Regions from separate parts of the Homo sapiens genome. Here region 2 is linked to region 1. The links are contacts of gene promoters, found by promoter capture Hi-C in blood cells and fetal thymus (Javierre and others, 2016). All regions are on one chromosome and are shown on one strand. Each heading gives the region's core, a stretch centred on a gene start or on the middle of the fragment in contact. The rest is flanking DNA. Distances are from core to core; before and after follow the strand shown.

What was found. The method cuts DNA at HindIII sites, captures the fragments that hold promoters and counts their contacts. A CHiCAGO score of 5 or more calls a contact.
Region 2: a fragment that was not itself captured here is called in contact with the fragment with the promoter of ZNF684 in region 1 in 1 of 17 cell types (non-activated CD4 T cells); the score reaches 5.3 in non-activated CD4 T cells.

Annotation. Positions count from the first base shown.
Region 1 is chr1:40,528,666-40,532,914 of GRCh38, reverse strand. It overlaps ZNF684 (zinc finger protein 684), which reads right to left and starts at 1,278. Exons shown (of 5, transcript NM_152373.4): 1 at 1,128-1,278. LOC124904149 (a long non-coding RNA gene) reads left to right here and starts at 1,369. Exons shown (of 2, transcript XR_007066022.1): 1 at 1,369-1,427; 2 at 1,560-2,337. RefSeq lists an enhancer at 1,184-1,478. The HindIII fragment of the contact is 2,309 bases long and covers 116-2,424 here.
Region 2 is chr1:40,253,172-40,257,282 of GRCh38, reverse strand. No RefSeq gene overlaps it. Among named protein-coding and RNA genes, the nearest start is that of ZMPSTE24, 3.0 kb to the left of the region's middle. The HindIII fragment of the contact is 1,425 bases long and covers 1,168-2,592 here.

The DNA of each region.
Region 1 (4,249 bases), core at 29-2,528:
TATGTTTCTGTCCTACTGATCTAGCACCAAGTGGTTCCTCTTGAAACAGTTATTTTTTTTCCTCCCAGAAATTTATCCTGAAGAAATAATGAATGAGTTGACTCACTTAAAAGCTTGGTCTCTGAAGCTCCGTAAGTCTAAAAATGATTCCTTCCTGTGATTCTCTGGTTTCTACTCTGACGCTGGGATAAGAGATTGCAAATTAGGTTGGGCTTTCTTGAGAAGGCTGGATTCAGGGACCCAGGAACACTTTTTTTTATTTTTTTTTTGTTAAGCTGGATCCTTCAGTTTAAACTCCAAATGTTTCTCTCTGTAGAAACTCGCCATCTCCTATGAGCTTAGAACTGCTGGGGCTCTAGAAAGGGTATAATGGGCAAACCGGGGACTCACATCTTCATTTACACAGTCTGCACTGGAAGATCTGCAGATACACCAAGAGACTCTACAAAATGACTACAAATCGAAATTTACTCAGCATTCATTGCTCAAACATTTCAGGAGAATAAACCCAACTCTGTTTTATGCAGGAATGCTATACTGTAAAAAAAAAAAAAAAGAAATTTGGAGAAAATGTATCTGAGTTTGAATCTCAGTTCTTCCACTTACTAAGCTGTGTGAGTCCAGGCAAGTAATTTCACCTTTCAGCTTCAGTTAACTCATATGCAAAATGGTAATAGCATTTACTTCAAATGATTGCTGAGAATACCCTTCTAATCCATAGCAGTTTCTCAAGAATGCTTTCTTCCTGGATCCCTTGAAATAGCTTACAGTTTCCACTGGATCCCTTGACACGGCTTAAAATTGTCGCAGGCTCCAGTCGGGCCAACTATGCTCTTGGAACCAGGAAAGGTACAGTTAGATGAACAGACTCCTACATAGTGACCTTGACCTACAAGAGCAGGAATGCAAATTGAGCCTCTCCCAGTCCCACCAGAGCCCTGGACATCTACCCAGTGCCAGTCGGAGCCCAACTCTTGCTTTCTCTCAGCTACTCGAGTTGAACAGGACCCACATATCCAAACCTGAAGTCACTGCGCTTGGAGACTAAAGTTTTATCTTCGGTAGGGTAAACCTAGAAGCCAGTCCCCGCCTTTCTCTTACGTCCTCCGAGTCCAGCAAAGCCATACCTGCCACCCTTTCACTGCCTCGCTCGCAGCTCCGGCTCCAAGCCTGGGATCAGTCACAGCGTCGTCCAGAGACAGGGGAGCAACACCCGCCCGCACTTCCCGCGGCGCTGATTTGAAGATTGAATACCGGCTACCGTCCTACTACGCGTGTGCGGAAGTAACTGTCCACCTAGAGTTCCTGGACTCCTCCCGGGTGTAGGCCATCCGTCGGAGACCACATTTCCCATAAGGCCAGTGGAGCTCGTTTCCGGAAGACGTCAGACGCTGCTTCCTCTTGGGGGGTGGTGCGGAGATTCCCGGGTTGGTATCTCTATTGCTAGCCTGAGAGCCACGCTTTTTAAGTCGTTTTCATTTAAAAGGATACACAGCATTTTTAAATACTGGAAAGTAAAATCGGCGGTATGCTAAAAACAATTTGCTCTTACTCAGCAGGGTTTCTTCTAGCAATGCACCAGGTTAAGTCGGAGAGGTGAAGAGGATCCAACAAAGAAGACTGAGAAGGAATAATCCATGAAGTAGATGGAAAAGTAGGAGAGTTTAGATCTGCAAAACCAAGGGAAGGAAGTGTTTCAAGAAGGGAGTGACCCATTGTCTCAAATGTTGCTCATAGGTCAAGTAAAATGAGAATTAAGAATGGGCCACTGTAGCAATGGTCACCAGTGATGTTGAAACGCCATTTTGGCAGTGGTGGAAGTTTGATAAAGTCTGATGAAAATTTGATAGGAGTTGGAGGGAAGGATGGGAGGAGAGGAAATGGAGAAAGCAAATATACGCAATACTTTTAAGAAGTTTTGTTTTTAAGGTGAGCAGAAAAATAAGGCTATCATGGGATAGGGATTTTGTTAATCTTTTGTTGTTGCGTTTTTCCACGTTCTAATTTTTTTTTTTTTTTTAATTCAAAGATGGGGCTGAGTGTGGTGGCTTATGCCTGTAATCCTAACATTTCAGGAGGCCAAAGTGGGAGGATTGGTTGAGCCCAGGAGTCTGAAACTGCCTAGGCAACATAGTGAGACCCTCATCTCTACAAAAAATAAAAAACTAGCCTGGCATGGCACCCGCCTGAAGTCCCAACTACTTGAGAGGCTGAGATGGGAGGATCGCTTGAGCCCAGACAGTAGAGACTGCAGTGAGCCGTGATCCCGCCACTGCACTGCAGCATGGGCGACAGAGCTAGTCTCTGTCTCAAAAAAATAAAATAAAAAAGATGGAAGAAATTATAGTAAGTTTATGTACTAATTAAAAGGATCTAGGCTGGGCGCAGTGGCTCACGCCTGTAATCCCAGCACTTTGGGAAGCTTAGGTGGGCAGATCACCTGAGGTCAGGAGTTGGAGACCAGCCTGGCCAACGTGGTGAAACCCCGTCTCTACTAAAAATACAAAAATTAGCCGGGCGTGGTGGCAGACGCCTGTAAACCCAGCTACCTGGGAGGCTGAGGCGGGAGAATCACTTGAACCCGGGAGGCAGAGGTTGCAGTGAGCCGAGATCACACCACTGCACTCCAGCCTGGGCGACAGAGCGAGGCTCTGTCTCAAATAAATGAATTAGTTAATAAAATAAAACAAAAGATCCAGTAGAGGCGGGAAATACACAATTCAGGATAGACAGGCTAGTTACTCGGAGGAATGTCCTTGAGAAGAGAAGGGATGGAATCCAGTACACAATCACAGGGATCATTCTAAGTAAGAGTATGGATAATTCATCTCCATTGAAATAAAAGGGGAGGCAGAGTTTATAAGTACAGATCCAAACAGGTGGACAAATATGGTGGTAGGAGAAAGAGGATGCCCTGTTCTGAGTGCTTCTATTTTCCCAGTGAAATAGGAAGCTGAAATGAAGATAGGGGGAAAGTATTTTAGACTTGACAGAAAAGATGAATACCGTATTATGATGATTTTGAAACATGATTTTTTCATATTTTAACATCTGTGAAATTGCTGTCTTACAAGTGATGGCATTCCATAGTTTAATCAGGAGCATTGTTTTTTATTAGTATATAAAATAATAATACAACTTATAATCAATGGCATCTGAGATTCGATAAAGTATGATTTATGAATGTGAGCAAGTGAATAGATTAAGGAAATGTAGTACTATTGCCTGGCACCATTAAGAACTGGCTTGATATTAGTAGCCATTATCGCTTCTCAGCCTTTTGGCTAAGATCAAGTGATATTAGTACCCACTGACTTTACTAGCATTTTCTATGCAATAAACACATCTCTCTCTCTCTGCCTCCCCTCCCGTCCCCTCCCCTCCCCTCTCCTCTCCTCTCTCTCAACAGAAAGGACATATATTAAAGACATGGGTAGTAGAATAAATTCATTACATCTTAATATCTAAAGTATTTTGGACCAAATTACTTATGTATTTTTATTAGAAACAGTATGTATTTTGTGCAACCCAAAAATTAGGCATTTAATTTTACAAAACATTTCATTATGGTAATTTTAAACTATGCAATAGTAGAAAGAATAGTGGTGAACTTCCATGTATCCATCCCCCAACTCCAATAATTATCAACTCAGGGCCAATTCTGTTTCATCTCTACCCCCAACCCCATTGCATAGTATTTTGAAGCAAATCCCAGAGCATATAATTTCACCAATAAAAATAAAGACTTAAAAAACCATATTATTATCACATCTAAAATATTAACAATATTTCCTTAACATCATCAAACATTGAGTCATTGTTCAAATTATCAATTTTCTCATAATTGCAATTTCTTTTAGAGTTTTTAAAAAATTAAGTACAAACGTTGGGCACAGTGGCTCATGCCTGTAACCACATCACTTTGGGAGGCTGAAGAAGAGGGAGGATTGCTTGAGGCCAAGAGTTTGAGGCTGCAGTCAGCTATGATCATACCACAACTTTAGAGGTTGTAAAAAAGGGACACTCTAATTCTATCATTCCTTTGTCATTTAGCAGCTGGATTATTCCTATAAAGAGGAACTTCATATCATGTACTATGTAGTTATTCAGGTATACAGTTCACATAGGAATGTCAGGAAAAAAATTTATTTACCAGTTTTCAACTTAACATCCCAATTATCTCTTAAACATGACCAATTTTTGAGCATCATTATGAACTCATAGATTTAAACATGTTTGATGTGCTTCA
Region 2 (4,111 bases), core at 631-3,130, 280 kb after region 1:
AAAGTTAATCTGATGATTAATTGGTTAAACATACTATCGTTGCTAATTAGCATAATTATTATTTACAATAAAGTGAGCTAAATAGCTACAACTAAAATATATTTAAATTACTGTGATATTGTGATGCTAAAGATGTGTTGAAATTAATATCTTGAATTTCTCAACCCTGCCTAAATGCCTCTGAGAGTAATTAGTATAATTAAAAGTCACTAGAGAAAGTGAATGACTCTAATAACAGGATAACAAATTCTTTTCAAGTCAGATGGTTTCCAGTTCTTTGCTTTCAACAAAATTAATGGTGGCCCATGAATTGTCAGCTGATGAAGGAACACTATTTGGTTTTTGGCATGCAACTCGGAAAGAAACCAAACGATTGATTGACATGCTTACAACAAAACTACTAGCATTCTCACCTATTTATGTAAAACCATTTCTCAGCACTTGTATCTGTGAAAACAACAGAATTGAAAATGAACCCTGTTAATCTACCAGTAGGAACTATTCATCCAGATAAATGAATTAATTGGTGGGTCAGCCCCATCTATCTCACTAAGAGATGTGTTCCCAATAGAATTTCACCTTTTATAACTGTGTGTTATCAATATTTGCAATCGTGTCATTTTGATCCATTATATACTAAAGATGATTGTGATGATTACTCACTTCAGAAGAATTCCAGCGTAGAGCCATAAAGTTACACGAAATTTTTTAAGGTTTACTACATATGTCATATTTTTATTGCGAAGAAGTGATCAAGAAAAGGTTGTTCAAACATCAAAGTACTATATTTGAATAACATTTTTTGTTAGAGTACAATCTAAATATGTTAGAGATAATAAAAGAACAATGTTGAAGAGCTCATTAGTGTATGTTTTAATGCATAATGGTGGTTATTCAGTTGTTATGTAGATTCTCTTGGATACATTATAAAGAGTGATTTAACAGTTTTATCTTAAAATGTCAGTATTTACAATTTGCAAGAATTTACATCCATTGCAACTATTTGAATTTATGATGGAACCAGTTAGATACCAACTTAAATATATAAGGGGTAAACACTTTTTCAAAATTTTCTCTCCCTCAGGCCATCATTGCTATGCCCTCTTCACTCTTGACTTCAGCTGTCTGTGAGTCCAAAGCCTCACAGGAGCTTCTACCACCCAAGCTTTGTGGCTAAGGGCACAGGTTTAGAGTCAAGCTGCTTGATTGCCAGCCACGGCCGCACCATGTATTAGCACGTTCTTTAATCTGTGCATCAGATCCTCATCAGTAAAATGAGAATAACATAGTATGTACTTACTTTCTCATACTGTTAGGATCAAATGAGAAAATTCATGTAAAGCTCCTAGCAATGTAGATGGCCCTGAGTGCCCAATAAAGGTTAGCTACTGCTTGGGAGAGGGGCATCATAGCATTGATCTGTCACCATGTGTCTGAAGAGATAGGAGAGTAGGAGGCCGAGGTGTCAAAAAGCCAAGACTGACTGGAATTCATTCATTCAATAAATACTGAATGTCTGCGAAATGCCAGACGCATTTCCAGGTGCCAGGGATATAGCAGTGAACCAAAGCCCCTCTCCTGGAGCTTACATTCTTAGCTGGGGTGGATGCAGTGTTTGATAAATAATAAGCAAATATTTAATAGTAAAAGTGGAAGTGGTGATAAGTGCTATGAAGAAAAAGCAGCAAAAAGGCAATACAGCATGTTGGTGTGAGGGATGCTGCTTTACATAAGTTGGTCAAGGAAGCCTTCTCAGATTAACTGGCATTTGAGTCCCCCAAAAAAAGTAAGAGAACAAGCTGTGTGGATATCTGAGGAAATTGCCAGTCAGAGTGAAGAGCAAGTGCAAAGGCCCTGAGATTGGCCAATGCTTATCATATCTGAGGAATGGCAAGAGGCTGTGGAAAGAGTAAGGAAGAGGGGGAGTGCAGATCCATGCCATCATGCAGTCTTTTAGTTAAAAGACTTTTACTTAGAATGAAAGAATAAGCCATTGCAGGATTTTGAGCAGAGCATTGCAGAGTTTTGAGCAGACAATCCTTCTCATTACAACGTGGAGAATAAATTTAATGGGGAATGGAAGGAGGGAGTGCAGTTAGGAGGCCATTTCAAGAATCCAGGTGATTTAGCAGTTGCCAAGGATATCAGAAAAAAAGAAAAAAGAATCCAGGTGAGAGATGGTAGTGCAGACTAATGTGGTGGCAGTGGAGAACTAGTGAATTATGGAAAGTGAATAATCACTTGTTTCTCTTTTCAGAAAGACAGTACTAATAGAAGGGCTGGCCTGTGTGGAGTCTAAAAATGGGAACCTCAAAACAGGCTGTTGGCAGGATTTTGCTAAAGGAGAAAGACTGGCAGGGTGTGCTGGCTCACACCTGTAATCTCAGTTCTTTGGGAGGCCAAGGTGGGATAATTGCTTGAGTGCAGGAGTTCGAGACCAGCCTAGGCAACACAGTGAGACTTCATCTCTATAAAAATAAATAAAATGACTGAATTTGAAAGATAAAGATTATTATCCCTAGAGTGATAGACATTGCTGTAGGGTAGTCCATCTACCCTGTCTAACCTAAATCATAGAGTTGCTCTCAAGCTTTTTCCCTATCTTGCCTTGATTCTCTGCTTACCAAGCATTCAAGGTCCCTTAATTGAAACTCTGGCCATAAGTGCTCTGGCCTCAAGAAAAGAATGATCCCCCTTGGCTGGGCGCAGTGGCTTACGCCCGTAATCCTAGCATTTTGGGAGGCCGAGGTGGGTGGATCACTTGAGGCCAGGAGTTTGAAACCAGCCTGGCCAACATGGCGAAACCCCATCTCTACTAAAAATACAAAAAAAAAAACAAAAGACAAAAAACCAGGCATGGTGGTGGACGCGTATAATCTGGAGGCTGAGGCAGGAGAATCGCTTGAACCCGGAAGGCGGAGGTTGCAGTGAGCGGAGATCACACCACTGCACTCCAGCCTGGGTACCCTTACAAGAGCAGCTGTTATTTCTTTTGCATCTAGCTCATTCTACTTTCTAGCTCATACGTTCTGTCTCTCATATAGGCTACTAATTCTGTGTTACTCCCTGTTAAAAAAGAACAAAAACAAAAACCCTGTAATGGTCCATTTATGATAGTATAAAGCCCAACCTATATATGGTATATATGGTATGACCTTCGAGGTCCTTCATTACCTGACATCAGTCTACTCTTCAAAACTCTTCTTTTTTGGCCGGGCGCGGTGGCTCACGGCTGTAATTCCAGCACTTTGGGAGGCCGAGGCGGGTGGATCATGAGGTCAGGAGATCGAGACCATCCTGGCTAACACGGTGAAACCCTGTCTCTACTAAAAATACAAAAAATTAGCCAGGCGTGGTGGCGGGTGCCTGTAGTCCCAGCTACTTGGGAGGCTGAGGCAGGAGAATGGCATGAACCCGGGAGGCTGAAGTTGCAGCGAGACAAGATTGCGCCACTGCACTCCAGCCTGGGTAACAGAGCGAGACTCCGTCTCAAAAAATATACATATATATATATCCTTCTGGGCCGGGCGCAGTGGCTCATGCCTGTAATCCCAGCACTCCGGCAGCCCAAGGCGGGTGGATCACCTGAGGTCCGGAGTTCCAGACCAGCCGGGCCAACATGGTGAAACCCCATCTCTACTAAAAATACAAAAAGTTAGCCAGGCATGGTGGCGGGCGCCTATAATCCCACCTACTCGGGAGGCTGAGGCAGCACAATCGCTTGAACCTGGGAGGCAGAGGTTGCGGTGAGCTGAGATCGCGCCACTGCACTCCAGCCTGGGCAACAAGAGCGAAACTCTGTCTCAAAAAGTAATAAAAATAAAAATATACTTCCATGATGATCCCGCTCAGGAATATTATCTTCCATTTCTTTGTCTGCCTATGTAATCATTTATGGGACACCTCGATGTCACTTCCTTTGCAAAGCCTTTCCTGGCCCCACCCTGTATTCACCCACCTGTTTTTGCATTTAGTACACGATACAGTGAAGTCTCATCCAGGGGTGGCATTTTAACTCCAGTGGATCAGGCAGAAATTACAAATGGTCAAGATTACCCTTCCCTTAGGAAGATGCCCCTTTGGAGACTGCTATTTTTTTTTTTAAAGACAG